Regions from separate parts of the Homo sapiens genome. Here region 2 is linked to region 1. Evidence: promoter capture Hi-C in 16 types of primary human blood cells and fetal thymus (Javierre and others, 2016). All regions are on one chromosome and are shown on one strand. Each heading gives the region's core, a stretch centred on a gene start or on the middle of the fragment in contact. The rest is flanking DNA. Distances are from core to core; before and after follow the strand shown. Region 1 holds the start of PDGFRL (platelet derived growth factor receptor like). Region 2 overlaps MTUS1 (microtubule associated scaffold protein 1).

Evidence for each region. The method cuts DNA at HindIII sites, captures the fragments that hold promoters and counts their contacts. A CHiCAGO score of 5 or more calls a contact.
Region 2: a contact is called between a fragment that was not itself captured here and the fragment with the promoter of PDGFRL in region 1, in 2 of 17 cell types (naive CD8 T cells and total CD4 T cells). The highest score is 6.3, in naive CD8 T cells.

What each region holds. Positions count from the first base shown.
Region 1 is chr8:17,573,286-17,579,496 of GRCh38, reverse strand. PDGFRL (platelet derived growth factor receptor like) reads right to left here and starts at 2,281. Exons shown (of 6, transcript NM_001372073.1): 1 at 2,190-2,281. The coding sequence starts at 2,244. RefSeq lists silencers at 1,876-1,925, 2,016-2,075. The HindIII fragment of the contact is 7,010 bases long and covers 1-4,210 here.
Region 2 is chr8:17,694,252-17,700,257 of GRCh38, reverse strand. The region is part of intron 6 of MTUS1 (microtubule associated scaffold protein 1); the gene reads left to right. Among named protein-coding and RNA genes, the nearest start is that of MIR548V, 16 kb to the right of the region's middle. The HindIII fragment of the contact is 8,441 bases long and covers 1-6,006 here.

The sequences.
Region 1 (6,211 bases), core at 1,032-3,531:
CAGTGAAACAAGTTGAGTCATGGACCTTGTGTCTGTAATTTGTGCTTTGGGATGGCCTTGAAGGCAGGATATTCCCAACCTGCCAATCTGAGACCAGCACTGGAAGGGCCTCCTGTGTAATCCACTCTCCTTAGTAGCTCCTGGCCACAACTCACAACACAACTCAAAACCAAAAACCATTCTTAATAGGTTTAGCCAAACGGTTACATAACTTAATGAAGCACTGTGTGTTCACTATTGTATCCATAAATAGTCCATACATTATAGATATGTGTGCTTTTATTTTTATCTTTATTTTCTTGAGATGGAGTCTCACTTTGTCGCCCAGCTGGAGTGCAGTGGTGCGATCTCGGCTCACTGCAACCTCTGCCTCCCAGGTTCAAGCAGTTCTCTGCCTCACCCTCCCAAGTAGCTGGGATTACACGTGCCCACCACCACGCCCGGCTAATTTTTATATTTTTAGTAGAGACGGGGTTTCACCATCTTGGCCAGGCTGGTCTTGAACTCCTGACCTTGTGATCCACCTGCCTTGGCCTCCCAAAGTGCTGGGATTACAGGCATGAGCCACTGTGCCCGGCCAGATGTGTGTACTTTTATAAACAAAATCTTCGTGCTATTATCACCTAAAATTTATGAACTATTTCTTACATTCAGTCTGTATTCCACTTTCTCCAATTGTCTCATAAATGCTTATTGTTTGTATGGATTACACTTAAAGAAAGGGTAAATTTAGTCAGATGTTTGTAATAAACTCACATGGGCTGGGTGAGATCCAGGAGGCAGAATGGAAGTCAATTTCTGAGCCTCTAAGACTGGCAAGTTGGGTATAAACAAAGGAATGGCTGATTTGAAATTATTTTGCCTGGCCATCTCCTGCCCTATTCAAAAAATGATACTACAAATTACATTTCTGCCTTTTCAGCGGTTGCACACAAGGGCCTGCCAGGAGCATTTTAATATTGCATTTTACAAACTGAACTCATGGCAACTTCTCTCTGGGCAGAGTTAAGTGTTACTCTCCCAGTAGAAGCTCTGCCTACGTTTTATTAAGCAAAGCTCTAGGCTGAAGGACCCTCATGCTCAACTTCAAGTACCACGACTATCTTGGATTTTGCAAACTACAATGCGGTATTTTTTTGGCAAATGTAGTTTCCTAGGAAAGAAAGGAACTGGTCAGGATGAACGAGTGGATAAAAATGTGAGCCAGGTCGAGCTGGCTCCAGCATGAAGTTGCATAACAGCAAAAGCTACTTTTCCACTAAATCTAAGCAAAAATTGTGTTGTAGCCCAGGAATTTCAAGAGAGGGTTGAGGACACCAGGAGGCACCCAGATGAAACATGTACTGTACAAATAACACCCATGGAGTGAATAGAGCAAACAAAACATTTAAATGCTAACAATAATATATAATACACACCACAGTAATACACACACCCAGACACACAGAAAAATAACACCAGACCCTGTGGTCACGGGTGTACACGACAGGGTGGACCCAGGACAGGTACACATTCAAAAACGCGCAGCGGTCATGGTCCCATAAGCTGTACCAAAAAAATGCATTTTCTTCACCATTTCCCATCCAATTAGATAAATATAATAAGCCGTGGGCTTTTGATTCGTTTTGAAGTTTCATACACTGACATTTTTGTTCGAAGATCTAGGCAGATCTTGCAGGATTCAAGCAAAAGGTGGTAGACGAAAACACGCCCAGAACTGCGAGGGGAGGGGGAGGTCACCTGGAACTCTGCAACCGAATCAGCGATTGCCGAGCTTAGGTGGCACTCGCTCTCAGCAGCAGAGGTCCCAGCCACGCCGCTGGGAGGTGGAAGCGATCCGAGGCTCCCGCCCCACCTCCCAGACCGACACGTTGACACTGGGGGCTGGACCAGGCGCTGGCTGGGGATGCTTGGTTCGCCCGGAGATGGGGACTTGGAGAGGTCCTGGTGGGCTCCTAAGGGTCGGGGTAGCTGCCACCACCCCTAGAGGGCTCTCCGGGCAGGCAAAGAGTGGGAGGAAAGGAGACCCCACCAGGAGGGGGCAGGTGCACCGGGCAGGCAGTGGCGCGGGGGCTGAGCCACCGAGGGCCGAACGTTAGACCAAGAGCTGGCAGGAGGGCGGCGGGGGCTTCGGGTCCCGGCTAAAGTCAGGGCACAAGCTAGGTGGCCCCGCGCCCAGAGTCACTCACCATCCTCCAGCGCTTCGTGCACCAGCAGAAGACCAAGCAGCAGCCAGACCTTCATCTCGGGAACCTCGGACCTCGGAGCGCAGGAGCGCGGCGGCTGCGCGGGGCGGGGACGCAGGGGAGGCGGCGGGCGAGGGGCGGGCTCCTGGGACGCCGAAGCGGGAGGATTCGGTTTCTTCAGGAGGAACAAGGTTTGGGGGAAAAAGTTGGGGAATTTTTTTTTTTTTTAGTTCTCTGTGTAATGTGACTTCTCCTGCCCCCTGGCGGAGCCGCGGTGCGCAGCACTTCTTCCCAGCGCGGGGAGGAAAGGCTAAGCGTGAAATGTACATTACAACAGCCATTCCTTGAATTTCTCCAACGCTTGGCGTTTTCACCAAGGTTATCAAGTTCAAGAAGGATCAGCGGGTGCTGATGGGGTCACTTTTAACCACGATTGTCCAAATGTTACCAGCGCCCGCCCCACCTCCTCAGGCAGAACCTGAGTGCTCTGTAAAAAGTGCTTCCTAAATTATTTCTGTTCATTCCATTTCTCTCCCCCACATGCACTCACTCACAGGACCGTTGCCCCGGGTTCTTGCTGCTCCTCTGTGTCTGGCCAGAGTTGGTCTCCGCACCCAGCCCTGTAACTGCTGGTGGGGGTGGGAGGACGGGTTCATTACAGGAATAACGTGGAAAATGAGACTGTGCAGACAACCCGGGCCTCTGGTGGTGAGGCAGGAGAACAGGGAATTAGGGTAAGCACGGGCTAGGGTATGAGCAGGAGAACAGCAGGTGCAGCCAGTTCGCAGAAGCAAAAGATCAGCAGGTGCAGACAGTTCTAGGCATGATTAGGCGGCACACAGGCCACATCCTCGCTCCTCTGATAACAAGGCAGAAGTTTCCACTTCAGCCTCGGACTGGTCGCAGGCCAGTCCTTCGTAAGGTGTAACCAGTTGGAGGCCTCTAAAGGGAACCCAAGGGTGTTGCCAAGTTCTTTTCGCTTTATAAAATCCCTGGGGAGCGTCAGGCTCTTGTGGCTTGCTGCAGCGCCCTCTGTGAATTGTCTTCTATAAATCTACGTTTTCCTTCCTCCCTTCTGTTGCTTTGTTTTTCCTTGCTTCTTTCTTTCGTTACTCCGTGCATTTCGTTCAATTTTTTGTTCAACAGGCCAAGAACCTGGACAACTCTATCAGGTAACAGTGGGGCAGAAGATACGGGCTTTCACAAGTCCCTCTGCAGAGAGCCATCCTGCGTTTCTGAGCTTGCAGACTCTCATGATCAAAGCAGTTTGCTAGCGGGGGAGATGCCTGTGTGTGTTCCCCCGGTGAGAAGCAGCCCATCTCATTGTAATCTTCAGCACCAGGCACTGCTATTAAAGGGAGCTCAATTCTAAATAACAGGAAAGGGACTTGTCCCTCAACACCCAACGAAAGAAGTGCTGCCATTTATAACAAACTAATGCTTCTCAGTCACTTCTGCAGGAGGAACCAAGAATTCTATATTCTGTTGCCAGCTCTAGCCGGAGCTTTGCCACTCGCTTGCCTTGCGATGCAGAGAGCAGTTGGCTGGGAATAAAGACCAGAGTTCAGATGCTGACACTGGCACAAACTCTCCATGCCTCTCAGAATTCACTTAACCTTCTGGGTTTTAGCATCTCTTGTTTATTAAGAAAGGGAACTAGGTGATTATTTCAACAGGAGTTTGCTATGTGATTAACATTACGGCTATGAAGGTTGAGACATCATCTCTCATGGCTACTTTTAAGGAGTGAACAAGCATTTAGACCACTGCAATGTGGTGTGTCAGGTTCTGGGGAGAATTCTGAGCAAAGGACTTGGAGCATGCACACAGGAGAGAGTAAATCTGCCTAAATTGCCCCACCGTGAGATTTCTTTTCATTCTGACCCCATGAATTGACTGCTTAACTCTCACTCCATGTTGGAGCCTGGGGTTGGGTCTAGATTCCTCCTCTCGGTCGCAGTATCCCCTCCATGCTGACTATGCATGTGCCAGGTCCACCTCTCTTGTGCCATTATTGTCAAGCTTCACTGCCCTGGCTCAGCTACATTTAGCCGAGAGTCGTCCCTCTTTCTCTTGCCGCTTAGAGGCTCTTCTTGGGGGGCTGAGGCGAGAGAGTCATTTGAGCCTGGGAAGCGAGGTTGCAGTGAGCTGAGATGGCACCACTGCACTCCAGCCTGGGCGACAGAGAGAGACTGTCTCAAAATAAATAAATAATAAATAAATAAATAAAAGCAAAGAAGAGAGGCCTCAGAGAATACCCATTCTTCTGCCACCTTGCTCTCAGATTTCTGCCATTCAGAACTATAAGAGAATACATTTCTGTTCTTTAAACCACGCACTCTGTGGTTCTTTGCTATGGTAGCCCCAGCAAATTAATACAGGGGTCTGTATTAAGATGGGAACAGAATTCATAAGAAGTATAAGGGCTTCCCAAGACACGTAGCTATTTCATCACAAGGCTTATTATCCTTGAATGAGACAATCTCAAGATGATTTTAAATTTGAAAACAAAAACTGCCAAAGCTGTATTTTTCACAGGTCTTATTTCACTATAAAAATCCACGTGCTTTGTCTCTAGGGTGAGAAAGAATTTTATTATTAGAATGTCGTGTTGATCTTTTCCATTCCTTCTCCAACAATTACTATAATGTTAGCCAATTAAAATAAACATTATCTTGCAGCTCTAAATCAAATACAACTTGAAGCCTGCTTTCCCAAGGCCTGATTTTTTTTTTTTGTATGTTTAGCTTGTATCTGGTCACCTTAATGGACCTTCTTAGTAGCTTAAATAGTTTTCAGTTGATCTCTTGGGTTTTTAGATAAACGATCACATTACCTGTAACACCCACTTTTCTTTCTTCTCTTTTCTTTGAGATAAGTCTCACTCTGTTGCTTAGGCTGGAGTACACTGGCATGATCACAGCTCACTGCAACCTCCACCTCTCCGGCTCAAGCAATTCTCCTGCCTCAGCCTCCTGAGTAGCTGGGACTACAGGTGTGCGCCACCATGTCTGACTAATTTTTGTATTTTTAGTAGAGATGGGTTTTCGCTGTGTTGGCCAGGCTGGTCTCAAACTCCTGACCTCAAGTGATCCTCCTGCCTCAGCCTCCCCAAGTGCTGGGATTACAGGTGTCAGCCACCGTGCCTGGCCATTTTCATTATCTATTTTAATTAACGGTAGCTTTCTATGCTTACCCATGAAATCTCCCTACTCCATTGCCTTCCGTGCTTTTTATTTGCCCCTTTGAAGTGGTGAATACCATTAGGAATTTGTTAGGTAAGAAAAAATCAGCCAATATTTTGGGCATCCCTTCTCCATCCCCAAGATAAGGACACGTAACTTCTCTAACTAGTCTTCGTTAACTACAGACATACAACCAAGATGATTTTTTCACAAAAATCTATCAGGGGAATCCGCCCCCAATATTTCAACGTAGGTTCTTTTTATTTTCCTTAAGTGTCGGCCGGCTGAGAAATAAAGAGAAAGAGTACAAAGAGAGGAATTTTACAGCTGGGCCGCCAGGAGTGACATCATACATTGGTAGGACCGTGATGCCCACCTGAGCCTCAAACCAGCAAGTTTTTTATTAAGGGTTTCAAAAGGGGAGGGGGTGTAAAAACAGAGAGTAGGTACAAAGATGACACGCTTCAAAGGGCAAAAAGCAGAACAAAGATCACGTGCTTCTGAGGGAACAGGACAAAGGTCAAAAGCAGAACTACTGATAAGGGTCCAACAAAGATCACAAGGCAAAGGGCAAAAGCAGAACCACTGAAAAGGGTCTATGTTCAGCGGTGCATGTATTGTCTTGATAAACATCTTAAACAACAGAAAACGGTTCGAGAGCAGAGAACTGGTCTGACCGCAAATGTACCAGGGCGGACTTTTTTCCCCACCCTAGTAAGCCTGAGGGTACTGCAGGAGACCAGGGTGTATCTCAGTGCTTATCTCAACTGCACAAGACAGACATTCCCAGAGCGACCATTTATAGACCTCCCCCCAGGAACGCATTCCTTTCCCAGGGCA
Region 2 (6,006 bases), core at 1,311-3,810, 120 kb before region 1:
ACCTCAGGTGATCCCACCTGCCTTGGCCTCCCAAAGTGCTGAGATTACAGGCATGTAATCTCACCACCGCGCCCGGCCCATAAAGACTCATAGCTAACTTTTACAACTACAAACTGTTGTACTTTAGGCACTAAAATTTCCTTATTTTTTCCTCTACTGTCCTTGGTGATGCCTATCTTTTCCTCTTAAATTAAGACTTTTAAAAATAACAAAGATGCTTTTTTTAGGTACTTCTCACATTCGTTCAATTTCAGAAAATATGGAGTTCCTAACTGGTAACAGATGATCAAATAATCAAAGAATTTTTTGGAACCAATTTTTTATCTTGGCTCCCCCCAGAGGCATATATAGTATAAAAATAGTTGTGACCTGAAAGTAATTGCTTATCCAGTTATTTAAATGAGCAAACGTAAAGTGTGTAAGAGAGTGCTTGGAGCAGTAGATTGTAAGCGATGGCCATTTGTTTATGGACTGCCAAGGCAGCTCCCTTGCTTTGGTGCACTTGTGCTGCACGGCCACCAGGAGGCAGACTATGTTTGGGAAAGAACTGAATTTAGTTTATTCCTGCAGCTTCTTGCTCTGCTGTTAAGAGATATCATTAACAATGTTTATTTTCAATATGTGTGGTTATAGCTTAATGTAATTCAAGTAAAAATGTTAATGAATCTGATTAATCGATGATTAGATGGTAATTTCTTCTTTTAGGGAGTCTAAAGAACTTCCCTTTTAACAAGGATAATTTAAGGCTGGGCGTGGTGGCTCACCCCTGTAATCCCAGCACTTGGGAGGCCGAGGTGTGTGGATCACCTGAGGTCAGGAGTTCGAGACGAGCCTGGCCAACATGGTGAAAACTCATCTCTACTAAAAATACAAAAATTAGCCAGGCATGGTGGCGGGCACCTGTAATCCCATCTACGGAGGCTGAGGCAGGAGAATCACTTGAACCCGGGAGGCAGAGATTGCAGTGAGCAGAGACTGCGCCATTACACTCCAGCCTGGGCAACAAGAGTGAAACTCCATCTCAAAAAACAAACAAAAACAAACAAAAAAGGATAATTTAGAATTTGCTGTTACTGAAGAAACAACAAACACAACCAAAAGAAAGAAAAACCACCTCCTACTATATGGAGTGGTGGCATGTCTGTTTTTAATCATGGCAAAATTTGACTCTGTTCTTCTGTTTGTTTTTAATGCTGATTGGTTTCTTGGTTTTTACAAGGTTTTGGGAGGTAGAGGAAAAGGTTCTGGTATATTTTTAGTATGTAGAATCTGGAAGGAAAAGGTGTTCAGGTTTTTTAATAATAAACTGGGATGAAGTAAAAGGCAACACCTAGAAGCAGCTGGCCTTGATTTTAATTCCTTGATCATTTAGCTTCAGTTGCTGTGGTGCAATGTATGTAGCAGGTTTTTCGTCAGTGTATGAACTAGGTGTATCTTTCTCACAGGAACCCTGGACAGGTTATTGGGTCTGTCTCTCTTGCTGACAACCTCTAAAATGGCAAGTTGGGGGCTTGAGTGAAGAGGGAGGGGGCTTGAGGGAAGAGAACTTATTTAAATTTTCTCTTCCTCCCTCTCTCTTCCCTGCTTCATACCCTACTCTATAGAATTTCTAAAAGAACTGCTTCCTGCTAGTTTTAATAGCACTTAATAGTGTTATTTATGGTAACAATTCTGCATTTATTTCTGAGTCTTATTTTCTAGGAAATCTTGGAAACAGGCATAGGACATTTTTAAAACATTGTTTTGTTTATAACATTTTTAAAAATGTTAAGAGCTCAGGCTATTCGTGGTTTAATGGAATTAGCTTAAGTGGGCATATTGTTGTTGTTAATTCTTATAACCATATCTTTGTTTTTCAAGTTCTTTTGGTTTTGCTATCATGTTTTAACATACTTTTACAAGCCACTCTACTGAAATAAAAATTAGTAGATAACTGGCAAAAGATATTCATAACTGTGCCCTCCTCACACTCCTAGTCTTGAAAGACCACTATAAGAGACCACATGATGTTCTATAAATGCAATTACTCATGCAATAAATGTAGTCTTTAGAATATGCCTATCTGATGGACTATTCTTCTGGAACTCTGATATTACATCTGATAGAGAAACCGTATTAATCTTTTACTGTTGATTATTTGTGAGGTCCTCAGCATGTGGGAATTAAAGTTGAACTTTAACCTTTTGACAATCTGTCATTAATATATTAGAATAGAAATTTTCTTAAATATTGTAGTTGAGAACATTTATTGCCTGAAGTCTTTAAAAAAAAAACTTTTCCAAAATACCAGGTTTAAATGTAGTTTACATGTAAAATATCTAGAGAAAAAATGCTCATGTTATCATTGTGAATATAAGGAGTGAAAAATGTTAAAATCAGGACACAGTTTACTTTCAGGAAATCCTAATTTTTTTCTAATTATGAAAGAAACATTAGGCACTTGAAGTAGTTAATTTCCCCTAGCGATCTTTCAAGTGGTTACAGGATCTGTGACATTATTGGTTGTTCTGTAAAGCTCCTGAGACCACCCACTTTCTCCTCCCCTTTACCATCTCGGATGAAAACCATAACAACTCCACAAGCATGCACAGTGTGATGTGGTTCAGAGGCAGCTTCTAGACCTGCAGGAGGGAGATTGTATTCAGAGGAAGAGCATCATTTTGGCAACATCTGAAAGTGAAAACGGAAGCCAGAAACACTTGGCCAGCCCTGGGGGATTTTTTTCTTCTATGCCTCTCTGGTGGAATGACATTTGCTGTGTAGGCATCTTTCCTCTGACTGTATTTCTTGGCCTTGAAGAGTACTGAGTTTAAAAAGACAGTATGTGACAGTCCATGGAAATTGCCTCTTCTGTGAAATCTCGCCACCTGCTCCGAAGACATGTTGTTGTCTCCCAAATTCTCCTTATCCACCATTCACATACGACTGACGGCCAAAGGATTGCTTCGAAACCTTCGACTTCCTTCAGGGTTTAGGAGAAGCACTGTTGTTTTCCACACAGGTCTGTCTCGCATAGATCTCTGTTTAGTGTTGCACGGGGGATGTCTTCATTAATTTGCAGATGTTTATCAGAGGTTTTTCCAAGGAGACAGATAATTGGAGGAAAAAAGCTCTCTCTAATGAGAGATGAGGCTTAATTTAAAAATTGTTTTCTGTTGCTTCAGCACAAGTGCATAGTACTTTTACTTTTGGCAGCAGATTGTGTTGTTTGTGTTGATGGAAGGCAGAATTGTTGCCTTGGTGTTCCCTAGCTCTTTTCTCCATCACCAGCCAAATGTGTGAAAATCAGCACCTGTTAAATTATATTTTAGTTCCAGTGTTTGGGAAATAGGACACAGGTAAATTTAGAAGAATATTTCCTGTTCGCCTGTGTAGATGAGAAGGTTCCCATCGTTTTTCATTGGATAGTTTCTCAGTCAGATTTGACAGTTAATTTTAATATGCTAAAAGATTTCTGTATACTAAACACTTCTGACAGAAAACATCCTAATGGTTATGGGGAAGTAGTAAGTGAATCACAAATCTAGTTTTCCAATCTTCATAATAAAAGTGTGTGCAGTCTCAAAATACTTCCCCTGAGGTTTATGTTTGTATCTGCTTATTATTTTCGGTGCCTAAGATGAAAATAAATTTAGTATATATTTTAGGCACGTGGTGACCTGTCTGCTCACTTTTAGGGCATTGGGTTGGCCTATGTTGCTACTTTTGTCCTAGATGATTTTACAGCTACAGTAAATTAAATCAGTTTTATTCTGTAAAATATGTTAGCTGGGGTGTTTTTATATTTGTTTTGGGCTGAATAGCGTTAGGTGTCACAGGAATGTTTGATGAGGATGTAAATAGATTTTTGTTTCTGCTTCATGTGCACGTGACCCCTCGTGTTTCTTATTTTCCACGTGGCTCATCTCTGTCCCTGGTGATTTGTTTTCAGCTGACTATTTTTAGTTTTCCCAGAGGCATCTCCCTTCTCTGTGGGAGAATTCTCATTTTTTCCAGCACCTCTCTCTCGTGTTTCATAACTCCCCTTGACCTGTCATTTGATTTTGCCAGCCTCTCCCTTTCAGTCTGAGCTGACGGTAAATGGGGGGAGGCAGCGAGGAGGAGGTCAGCAGTGGCCCTCCTCTCCCAGCTCAGGGCCGCTGCAGCCCTTCCAACTGAACAAATTAATAGGGGGGAAAAATAACAAAGGGTGCCCTATATTTGCAATAATTTGTCTGATCTAAAGTAGCTCCAAATAGCTTTTAATTTTAAAGAGTTCTTTTAAAAATACTGTAATCCACGCTCCAAGTTAAAAATCAAACAGTATGGAAGGTTGTGCAGTCCTAGGCAAGCCTCTCTCTTACCCAGAGTCCCTGTCTGCTCTCCGTGGAGACAGCCGCTCTCAGCTGCTTGCATAGTGTTCTTGCACGTTTCCAGTCACATGTAAATCTATGCAGGTCTTTTTTATTCTTTTTTGTTATACAGAAATAAAAGCGTACTATATATTCTATACCTTTTTAAAGTTAATGTGTTTTAGATTTGCATGTGATCACATGTTTATCTACCTCATTAAAAAAAATAGTTCTGTAACATTCCATTATTGGGTAAGTCATGATTTACTTAACCAGTGCTCTAGTAGTAGACATTCTAAGTTGTCTGTAGTGTTGTTGTGAAGCAGATAGCTTTCCAAGACAGCGTAAGCAAACGACACAAGGCTTCTATTACCAGGGTTTAGTTGATAGTGATGTATTGGACACATTTTATTTTCTAAACTTACGTAAAACTATTTTCTGTTTATTTGCAGTCATAATTTTTTGAGCTAGAGTTCACATAGAGGTGATCTAATCTGTCTTATACCAGGAAGTCTGAGGCCCAGAGAAGTGAATTCGCTTGCCCAGAGGCACACAGTAAGTGCCAGAGATAGGACTAAAACCTGGGACTTCTATTTAGAATTTTTGGCGTACATATTTTCCAGCTGCAAATTTTGCTGTAATTTTGTTAGATCCAAGGAATAGCAGGGATGGAGGAAGCGTTTTGTGTGTTGGAGGCTTTTTAAAATCATGTAAGGAATATAATTCTGCTTACTCCCAATATCAGTCTTTGATGGGCTTATCCATGTTATGTCATTTTAACGTCCGAGAAATCGTCCGTCAAGTGGGTAATTCATGCCGTCATGGTGACTCTTATCTGAATGGACTGTCAGCAGTAACTTGGGTTGGTATCCTTAGTGAAGGAAGTGGTGTTGGTTGCCTCAGTGCAGTGGTGTTGACCTGGATCCCAAGAGGCCTGGATTGTAGCCTTGATTCTGCTGGTGACCAAGTGAATAGCCCTGTGCACCTAACCTCACACGGCTACAAAATAAGGGAACCACAAGAGATGACTTCCAGGTTCCCCTTAGCCTCCAAATCTGTGAATTTCTGGCTGAAGATTTGAAAACCCTCAGTGTATTACTCTGCTTGGAAATTCATCTTATCTAAATGATTTGTCTCCTTATTTTTTTACCTCCTAAATTCAGTTAATACTCATGAATTATCTGTTTCTTTTCATGACACCATGTGTCTGGTCATCAAACCCCACCTTTGGTTTTTGTTGTTTTTTTGTTGCTTTGTTTTAGATGGAGTCTCGCTCTGTTGCCTAGGCTGGAGTGCACTGGTGCTGTCTGGGCCCACTGCAACCTCCGCCTCCCAGGTTCAAGCAATTCTGCTGCCTCAGCCTCCCGAGTAGCTGGGATTACAGGTGCCCACCACCATACCCGGCTAATTTCTTTGTATTTTTAATAGAGATGGGGTTTCACCATGTTGGCCATACTGGTCTGGAACTCCTGACCTCAGGCAATTCGCCTGCCTCAGCCTCCCAAAGTGCTGGGATTACAGACATGAGCTACCACGTCTGGCCAAACCTCACCTTTGAATCATTACTTGTCCTGATTTATCCACAATCAATTGGTTGAAAACTCTAAGACTCCATCATTTGAAATCTTGATTTGTTTTTACCACCTGCCATTACCCTAGTCCAGGCATTATCATG